Regions from separate parts of the Homo sapiens genome. Here regions 1 and 3 are each linked to region 2. The links are contacts of gene promoters, found by promoter capture Hi-C in blood cells and fetal thymus (Javierre and others, 2016). All regions are on one chromosome and are shown on one strand. Each heading gives the region's core, a stretch centred on a gene start or on the middle of the fragment in contact. The rest is flanking DNA. Distances are from core to core; before and after follow the strand shown.

Evidence for each region. Contacts are between HindIII fragments. The CHiCAGO score rates a contact against its expected background, and 5 or more counts as called.
Region 1: a fragment that was not itself captured here is called in contact with the fragment with the promoter of ZNF740 in region 2 in 1 of 17 cell types (total B cells); the score reaches 5.2 in total B cells.
Region 3: a contact is called between a fragment that was not itself captured here and the fragment with the promoter of ZNF740 in region 2, in 2 of 17 cell types (naive B cells and activated CD4 T cells). The highest score is 6.3, in naive B cells.

What each region holds. Positions count from the first base shown.
Region 1 is chr12:53,514,851-53,517,937 of GRCh38, forward strand. It overlaps ATF7-NPFF (ATF7-NPFF readthrough), which reads right to left. Exons shown (of 15, transcript NR_159377.1): 12 at 2,165-2,504. It overlaps ATF7 (activating transcription factor 7), which reads right to left. Exons shown (of 12, transcript NM_006856.3): 12 at 1-2,504. The coding sequence ends at 2,287. It overlaps ATF7-AS1 (ATF7 antisense RNA 1), which reads left to right. Exons shown (of 3, transcript NR_046221.1): 3 at 659-2,758. Among named protein-coding and RNA genes, the nearest start is that of ATF7-AS1, 2.4 kb to the left of the region's middle. RefSeq lists a silencer at 1,031-1,272 and an enhancer at 2,239-2,738. The HindIII fragment of the contact is 300 bases long and covers 1,355-1,654 here.
Region 2 is chr12:53,178,649-53,182,069 of GRCh38, forward strand. It overlaps ZNF740 (zinc finger protein 740), which reads left to right and starts at 2,074. Exons shown (of 7, transcript NM_001004304.4): 1 at 2,074-2,189; 2 at 3,029-3,344. The coding sequence starts at 3,336. CSAD (cysteine sulfinic acid decarboxylase) reads right to left here and starts at 2,277. Exons shown (of 17, transcript NM_001244705.2): 1 at 2,084-2,277; 2 at 454-494. RefSeq lists an enhancer at 1,543-2,101 and silencers at 1,764-1,853, 2,144-2,443, 2,797-3,091. The HindIII fragment of the contact is 11,552 bases long and covers 1-3,421 here.
Region 3 is chr12:53,472,955-53,476,091 of GRCh38, forward strand. The region is part of intron 14 of PCBP2 (poly(rC) binding protein 2); the gene reads left to right. Among named protein-coding and RNA genes, the nearest start is that of PCBP2-OT1, 10 kb to the left of the region's middle. The HindIII fragment of the contact is 280 bases long and covers 1,483-1,762 here.

The DNA of each region.
Region 1 (3,087 bases), core at 255-2,754, 340 kb after region 2:
TAGGAAAGCTCCTTAGGAGCCATAAACTCAGTCAAGCTTTAGGGCAAGGCTGCTACTGGGAAATCAAGACAATAAAAAAATGAAACAAAACTCTAAAGCAGGAGAAAATCCCAGGGAGCAGCCAGCTAAAGGGGAAGTCCTGAGCACAAGTTACGGCTGTGAATTTTTAAAGGCAAAAGTGAAGTCCCTGGATGTGGTAACCTGCGTCCTGACCATCTGCCATAACATTTGCTAGTCTGAATCACTTCAGGGCCTATTCCTGTTGGGTACCTGATGGTAGAGGATGAGAAAACCGTGTTTTCTCTCCTTTGTCTTTAGGGGTGTGGCCTGTTCAGCACCAGCTCTGAAAAGCAGGAGGGGAAATTTAAAACAAATGCAGCAGAACCTGTTACCTGACTGGTTCACTAGGACAGGATATCACTTTAAGGAAACGGGAATCTTGTAGCTTAGAACATTTTCTCATTCCCCTGTGACAGTCAATTTTGGAGACAAAATAAGAAAGGAAGCTGGCAGTTATTTTGTATGTATGTTTAAGATGGAGGTAGGAAAGATGGAGAGAAGGACATTCTTGGCTTGCACAGATGGCAGAAAGTGGCTCTGGGACAACTGGAAGGGTTTCATACGGAAAGGCAATTAAAGCTGACCTATCTATCCACAGGCCTCTGGCTCTGAATTGCTTCCTATGGTCCTGGTAGAAACTGCATAGTTCAGAGCCAAGGGGAGATGAGAAGCCTTAACGTGGAAGAGGGACAAGAGAGATGAATTGCTCCCTCTGCAACCCAACTCTTCAAAGTAAGAATGGTTGAGAGCAATAGTCACCAATTTCCCAGGCCAGAACCTGGGGTCCTTTGCTGGGACCAGTTCTGCACTTTCCCTCTCCTCTTCCTCCCTCCTTTCAATCTTATACTCAAGTAAACCCACTCAGCATCTTGGCTATGACGCTTCAAGATCCTGGAGCACTGCATGTAAAGAGAAGAGAGAAGAAATGGGTTGAAGAAACTCTGGAGGACCTGGAAGACCTAGTGGCTAAGCTAGGAACCTGGTGAAAGAGAAAGAAGATAGTCCAGACGGTGATGGGCACTTGTGAACAGAAGACTCTAGCTCAGAAAAGCAGACAGATGTGTGAGGGGGAGAGATGGGGTAGAACAAAGGAACTCGAGAGTCCCCTACATGACAGCCTCCAGGAGGGCTGAGTCTGAAGTAGTTACAGAAGAGAGACAGGGGCGGTAATGTTGATAGGGGAATGAAGAGAGAGAAGCAGGAGCAGAAAAATGACCAAAGATGACAATATGCTTTGGCCGGTAAACTCTTATAAAACATAAAGGAATCGATTAATCCCTAACTTGATGGAACAAGCTTTGAAATACTTTGTTCCTGTCTGCCCTGATGGTTAAACTAAAGAAGGAGGGAGGGGAGGAGACAGAATCAGCCAGTCAGATTCTGGGCCCTTCCCTTTTCACTACCAAGCAATCTTTAATAATAAGGCCACAAAATGAGGTTGCCAAGGCTTAGTGGGGTGGTGGGAAAGACCCCACCACTACACTAAAGTCAAGGGACAAAATGAGGTACCCAAATAGCTCTGCAAATAGATGAAAAAGAATTAGAACTCTTGAGGGTTTCTTTCTTTTTGGTGGCAGGTAGAGAGAAGGAATAAAGCTTATGGAAAAACTGGAAAATACTGCTACTTCATACATCAAAGGTAACCTTACATTCTCCGTAAGTGAATGTTTTAACTAGAATTAAGGAAGAGGAAAAAGGAAACGGGTAAATAAGCAGCTATGGGAGACCTGAGTCCTGAGTCCATGGGGTGGCTGGGGCTGGGTCAGCGGGTAATATGTCATCAAATCTAGCCTCCCTCTATCTGGCAGGAAGTGGCATGCTGGTAAGGAACAAAAAGGTAACAGCCACGGCTTAGTGGGAAGAGAGGGAACTGAGAAACCCCAAACCTAGAAGTGCCAAGGGTTAGTGTTAAAAGAGACAGATACACGTGCATGGGGCAGGGGTGATTGTTCGGACCATCTGGAAAGGCCTTTGGCTGTGGATGCATCAGAAACCCCACCCTGGGGGATGATCTATGAGGCTCCGGGGCTGGGAGGCCCCCAGCACAGGTGTCAAACGTACATGACCACATGGCTAAAAAGCCCCATATCTGTCCATTACTCACAACACACAATTCCCCCCACCCATATTGCCATGTCCAAGGCAGATGGGAGGGGATAAGATGACATCTCTCTTGGCTCTTGGGCGGGCGAGCTCTGGCTGAGGACCTCTCCACCAGAGGAGGCATCATCTGCCCGCAGACTGGGACTGTGGGGTCATGATTACATGCGATTGTATCGGCATGCTCAGTTCTGTCCTTTGGCTGGCCATCTGAGTGAGGACCGAGGTGGCCACAGCTTCAGCTGCAGAGCGAACACTGAGGCCATTGCTAGGGGCTGTTGCTGAGCTGTGCTGAATCACAGGGGCTGGAGAACCCGTTGGCTCTGAGCTTTCCTTGGGGCTTTCTGCCAGGAAGGAGGGCAAAGAGCAGAGAGCAATTGGTTAGAAAACAGAATGGGGAAAGAGGCAGGACTACCTTTTGCCATAATTCTAAAGGAGCCCAAAAGGGAAATGAAACCCATCTTTTTTTTGGGGAAAACTTCCCAGAATCCTGGCTTCTAAGTCATAAATGGGCTAGGAAATGGGAAGTTGTAAGAAGGGAAGAACTAGGCCAAAATTAACCTATCTATTCCAATAAAATGAATCTCCAACATGTTAATTACACTGTCTGGTTTCTAGGTCTTTGCATAGTTCATTACCAACTCTTATTATTATTCATTACTTCTATTCTTTCTTGTTTTTAAGAGATAGGGTCTCAAGTGATCCTCCTGCCTTGGCCTCTCAAAGTGCTGGGATTATAGGCATGAGCCACTGCGCCTGGCCTTCATTTCTTTAAAGATGATTTAAAATAGATCTCTTTTTAGCCATCCTCTTTGATTAATTCTCACAGGAACTGAATTATTCCATTATTTTATTTATTTATTTTTTTTCCTAAGACTGAGTCTTGCTCTGTTGCCCAGGCTGGAGTGCAGTGGTGCAATCTCAGCT
Region 2 (3,421 bases), core at 824-3,323:
GCCGGGCTGGCAGCAGGCGCCAGCTACTCAGGAGGCTAAGCCAGGAGAATTGCTTGAACCTGGGAGGTGGAGGTTGCAGTGAGCCAAGATTGTGCCATTGCACTCTAGCCTGGGTGACAGAGTGAGACTCCATCTCAAAAAAAAATAAAAATAAAAATAAATTTAAATAAAAGCACATATCCTATCTATAAATCCTTATAAATGCAAAAGGTAACTTTTTTTTCTTTTTTGAGACAGAGTTTCACTCTTATTGCCCAGGAAAGGCACGACTCTCGCCTCACCACAACTCCCGCCTCCCGGGTTCAAGTGATTCTCCTGACTCAGCCTCTCGAGTAGCTGGGATTACAGGCATGTGCCACCACGCCCGGCTAATTTTGTATTTTTAGAAGAGACGCGGTTTCTCCATGTTGGTCAGGCTGGTCTGGAACTCCCGACCTCAGATGATCCGCCCACCTCGGCTTCCCAACGTGCTGGGATTACAGGTGTGAGCCACCCTGCCCGGAGCAAAAAGATAACTATTTAAGGATGTTCATTATTGTATTGTTTATAAAGCAAAAAAATCTGAAACCTAAATGTTCATCAAGATGGGACAAGGCACACACATAAACTGGAATACTGTGCAACAGTTTTTTAAATGTTAGCTGACTCAGATGTCTAAAATACACTGTATGGCGCATTACAGGTGCTCAATAAATACTGGTTGAAAAGATTTTTGTATGAACACAGAAAAAAGCCTAAAAGCATATATACCAAACTGGTAAGAATGATTCCCTTCAGGAGCATGGGATAAGTAGAGGGGGAGAATAACCATTTTGTGTCTTTTATACTTTTGCGTTGTGTCGATTTGTAAAATAAGTAGGAGCTAATTTTCAAAAAAGATTTAAAAGACTTATTCCTGGTGATGTTTCTTTATCTCTCTCTTTCTCCATTTTGTCTCTATTTTAGAATGATCCTAAAACACAAAAAACGTACTTTCAATGGCCCAAATCATGGAGTGGCTCAGGGAAATGAAATCTGTCTACAAAAAAAAAAAAGTTGAGAATCCTTGTCTTTTTTTCATCATACAGTTTTTTTTTTCTTTTGGTATCACCATTACTTCTCCTAAAGTCACGACATAATATCACCTACAGCAGAAATGAGGACTTCAGTGGAATTGACATCTCCTTCCATCAAGCGCATTTGCAGTCCATCTTTAGCAGGACCTCTCTCTAATGGCTAAGGCTAGGCAGAAGAATTTGAAGACAGTCTGGTTTCCATTTTCCTAATGCAGCCTGGCCCAAGAGCCAGGACTCCCATAAGACTAGTCTACTGTGGGAGTCAGGGTCTTTTCCACGTGTGGAGGCTAGTGTTTGATGCTGGACGGCCTGGAGTAAAGGGCGAAGGGGAGAAGGTAACCAACCAGGCTGGCCTCGGGATTCGCAGAGGAGGGCTGGGGCTTTGACTTCTGCAGGGAGGTGAGCAGTGTGGCCAAGGGCTACTCAAGGAACGCCTCTGCGAGAATTCAGACTGTGGTTGAGCGCACAAAGCAAGAGTGTGCGAAGAAAAGTTAACGCCTCTCCCAGCTGACCCCAAAATCTGCTAATCTGGGCCTGACGGAAAAAATTCGGAGAAGAACCACCTCGGCCGAGTTACGTGAAAAGGCTGGGTACGAACTACTCTGGCTCTACTTGGGGCGCCGGCTCAGAGCGATGGGCAGGACGTCCGCGAGGAAGAAAGAGTGACGATGATTTTTCAAGGAGTCTGAACCAGCTCACCCAGCAAACCCTCCTCCCATCGAGCACCCAGCGTACAATCATCGAAGGGCCGAGGGTCCTGCCCTCAGTCTCGATGGCGGCCGGGGCGCGCCCCGGCCACGGCGCACGCGCCGGCCTCAGCGCTCCCTCCTCCATGCCCTCGGCGCACGGCGCCGCCCACTCACCCAGCTGCACCTCTCCGTGCGTCCCCAAGCTCACCCGCTCTGAGGCTGCCCCCGCTAGTCTAGCTGCCGAGCCCGGAAGTGGATGCAGCCGCTCGGCGGAGAGGACGAGGGGGAGGGGGAAGTGCTTCCGGGGAAACGGGCCGGGGTTGGTGTTTGTAAACTTGCCTCGGTCCCGGTGGGGGCAGCCGCGGCGGTGGGGTTGGCAGGGTGTGCTGGGGCCTGGAGGAGGCGCCGCGCGGCCAGGGAGCCAGCGGGAGGCCGCGCCTGGCAGGTAGGAGCAAGCCCCAAAGACCGCAGCGTCGTCCGTACAGACGGCAGCGCTTCAGTAGCTCGCAAGCCGTGGGGTGCCGCGCGGGAAGGGGGAGGGGAGGGGAGGAGGGGCGCGTGGCGAAGGGAGGGGGATCTCCGGGGGAGGGAGGGGAAAGGCCGTGCGCGCACACCGCCCCCTGCCCGCGCGTCCCGCCGCGTCCCCGGCCCGGGAGAGGGCTCTCGGAGGGGACGCGGGCGCGAGCACGCATCTCGCGCGCTTCTCGGCACTCTCCGGCTCTGCTCCCGGTTGGTGCAGCGGGTGCAGAGGCTGGCTGGCCGGAGCGAGGCGGGCGACACGCCGCGCCGGGCTTCGCCTGCCTGTCCTCCACCTCCGCAGCAAGTTTCCCTACCTTCGGGCGGACGGGGAGAACGCACACGTGTGGGCACTGCCAGTCCCGTTTCTGCCCGCCACCGAAGCACCCAGCGATGGCCCTTGAGCTTTCCTCCACCCTAGTCTTGCCGCCTCTGTAAAGTGCGAGCTTTTCGGGCCGGCCCACTGGGCACAAAAGCCCCAAAGGGTCTCCGCCCCCTTCTTCCATTCCTGAGATGGCAAATCCAAGCAACTTTCCTTTTGGCAGAGTTCCTCCATAGGAGGCCCCAATTACTTTTGCTCCTGTTGGCTTCCACTCCTTGCCCAGGAGACCAGTTCCTCCTATTGACCTAGAAAGAAAACTCTTCTTGACTCATGTCCTCGTTCTGAGCTTCACAGAGAGCGCCCAGCAAAAAAAAAATTCATATCGCACGTTGTAATGGCCTGAAGATGTTGCATTTAGCAGCCCCCCTCTTCCTTTCTGGTTTCAGGTTTCTGAAACAGATCGTGAGCTTCATCAAGAGAATTCAACTGGAAAACCAAGACTGGTAGACTCTCTTTTTCTTCAGACAATAGGCAGGAGCCAGGCAGAGTCCAGGGATTCTTGGAACACCTATCTTTTCTTCGGAGGACACTAAGTTCTATTTGAAGACAAAGTTCAATATGGCAACAGGACTGATGGGACACGAAGGAGTCGCTACCGTGATTTGGTGACAGTTCTTCAAAACGACAGTGTCTCAAGGAAAGGTGGACCTAGGAACTCCTGAACTTTTGGGTTGCCTTAAGTGAGAAATCAGCATGGCTCAGGTAAAAAGCTCTAGAGTCCTCCTCCAAGATAACTGGGAAGCCTGTTTGCAGTTTCACTCTTGAATGCTGCCTTAGTC
Region 3 (3,137 bases), core at 373-2,872, 290 kb after region 2:
ACCAAGGTTGTTTGCAAAGAGGTCTTTTTCTTTTTTAGAGATAGGGTTTCATGTTGGTCAGGCTCGTCTCCAACTCCTGACCTCAAGTGATATGCCTCCCAAAGTGCTGGGATTACAAGAATTGTTTTTCTTTCTTTTTTTTTTTTTTGAGACGGAGTCTTGCTCTGTCACCAGGCTGGAGTGCAGTGGCTCCATCTCGGCTCACTGCAACCTCTGCCTCCTGGGCTCAAGTGATTCTCCTGCCTCAGCCTCCCAAGTAGCTGGGACTTACAGGCACGTGCCACCACGTCCAGCTAATTTTTGTATTTTTAGTATAGACGGGGTTTCACCATGTTGGCAAGGATGGCCTCGATCTTTTGACCTTGTCATCCACCTGCCTCGGCCTCCCAAAGTGCTGGGATTACAGGCGTGAGCCACTATGCCCAGCTTGTTTTTCTTATTTGTAATTAGGATTTTGGAGGGCAAGAAGTTTTCAGTTTTCAGTGGCAAGAATCAGGTTTTTGAAAGCTGGAATTTGTTTTGTTCTTTCGATAGGCTTGCCCTTCATGTAATTTAAATTGTGACTGTTTAAATGTGACCTGCTTGCCTAGCTCCTGCAATAGGTCAGTGGCTACATTGTAAGGAAGCAGAATTCTCTTGGTAGAGTGGCTCTTTTCAGGATCATTGTTACTGAATAGCAATTCGGTATCTTAGCCATGGATTAGGGTCAAAACTTTTCAAAGCTTCATCTAACACCAAAGCAAAGATTATGCATGCACAAAGCTTATTCTTTCTCAACTTGGTGCAGTTTAAATGCAGAAGTCAAAGGGTTTTTTTTTTTTTCCTTTCTCATTTTTTTTAAGTCAAGAAGGATTTTACTGGATTCTGAGCATTTTCTCCTGTCTCTTGATTTTTCATGGTGGCAGTCTGTCCTTTTATATAGTTAGTTGACTTCTGTATCCCTTTCCTTTATGGATTGCAGCTGTCCTTGGACATAGGTAAATAAAATGAGGTTTTAAGAGGAGCCTTTCTGCTCTTGAAGACTTAGCGTTGTGGGCTCAATTGTCCAGGCACACTTCCCAAATATATGTAGTTCTGGCTTAGACACATACAGGCATTTGGGAGACATGTACCCTTACTGTTCTGTGGAGCTTATTTTGGGAGTGGAAGCAGCAGCATTTTCGCTTAAGTATGAATTTTTAGGTGATACTTGAGTTTCTCTTTTCCACTTCTGAAAGGTCCACATTAGAAGTATGATCAGTCAGAAACAACTTTTTATACCACCTCCCACCAGAAAAGCTTCCCTAGTTCTTATCTACACTTCTGTTCTCAGCATTTTTCTTTGAAAACGCTACATTCTTTGAAATTTGAAATTAGTCAGTGACCTACTTTGGACTCTTGTCTCTTTCCACCCTGATACTGGTTTGTTTGCTGTGGAGATGTAAGCAGACTTTAATACATAGCTGGAAGGATTTTTAAAAATTCTGCTTTATAAATATTCAAAGCTTCACAAGTAATTGTGGGATAATTGATTTTCTGTTAGAATAGGAAATTGACATTTGATTAGAGGAAACATTTCTTCCTTGTTGGGTGATTGATGAGTATCTTTTTCTACCCGAAATCATTCCTTCAACATCTGGGTTGGGTCAGTGTGTCAGATACATGAAGTATGTGCCCTATGATTTCTTTTCTCTGTCAGCTTTTTCTTCACCATAGCAGTTTTTAAGTAGCTCTGTGGAATGGAAATATACATATTTAGAGGGTGGGACATAGGCTAAAAGAAAGCTTGTCACAAGTTGACACTAGGTCTTCCTAATTGTCAACCAGAGGCACTTACTGATATAACTGAAGCAGTTTTTGTCCTGTACTTACTCCCTTTTGTGGTCTTCCCTTCCACCCACCCTTTTTTTTTGTTCCTTTTTTCCTCTGTTACAGTTTAGAAAACGCTAAACCCTCCTCCCAGGCAGCCTCCGTCACGATCCCTGATCACCTCAGCATCAACCTCTCTCAACCCTCCACCCCTTCTTCTTCTTCCTCCTCCACCACCACCCCCTCGCTCGCCACAGCGGGGACCTCCGACGCACCCTCCAGCCTCCCCAACCCTCTTCCGACCGCCCCTTGTGTCTCCAGTCTGCTTGGCATGAAACCCATCCCTCTCCTGGCTCTAAATGTTGTGTCTGCTGCTAAGGGTACCGGGGCTTCAGCTACCACCACCACCACCTCTGCCGTGCCATGTGTAACTAACAAACTGAAAGGCGAGAAACAGAGATTCTCTCCCTACTGATTGCATACCTTGAGGCACCTCCTCCAGTATTATTTTGTTCATTTTGTTTTCCTTTGTTAACATTGGTGAGAATGAAACTATTGTGAGCTTGTTACCGTTTCCTTTTTACTACTTTGGGGGATAACTGGGTGGGGGTGGGGGAGTGGTAACCCTTGTTTAGGTTTAGGCCATTTCAGCTGAGTGCCTGTTTCAGGGTCTGACTTGAATTCTTTATCTAGAGCCACAGTTTTCTCTTCTTTCTTGTTTGTTACTTTTCTTTGTAGCTTTATTCTGCCTTGCAATATAACAATGTGTTAGGCTCTGTGTTAATGAATAAAAGCTGCTTCGTTAACTTTTTTTTTTTTTTTTAAGAATTATTTAATGGTTAAGCTATCAGCAGGCCTTCTTGGCCATATTTGTGTTTCTAGCTGTAATAAAGTTGGCGCAGTAAGAACCTTAGTACACTGTGTGCTGTGAAGGGTAAAGGGTTGGGGGCTTGTGACTTGTGGCTATTCAGCTAGGAAGCCTGTATAACTGACATGGGCTTTTTGAATCCCAAGTGAATTTTATAGTCGTTTGTCAATATTTCCACAAAGAGATAACGAGTCTGTGGCAGTTTAGATCCTGAAGGTCCTCTGTAATTGGCAACAAGCTTCACTAGTGAGGAAGTTTATCTGACTTCTCAGATGGCCTTACCTTGCCAGCAGCAGCTAACAAGGTGTTCATCCCAGGATTCCTCTGGTGAATGGTTACCATGAGGATCTCTTCCAAGTCATACATTCAAAGAACATACTTCTTTACCCAGAATGAAGGGGAGGGGCAAAGTGGGATAAGTCTAATAAAATTAGGCAGCTTCTGTCTGCATTCCTCTGAATTAGCATTATGCCTCTTTCTG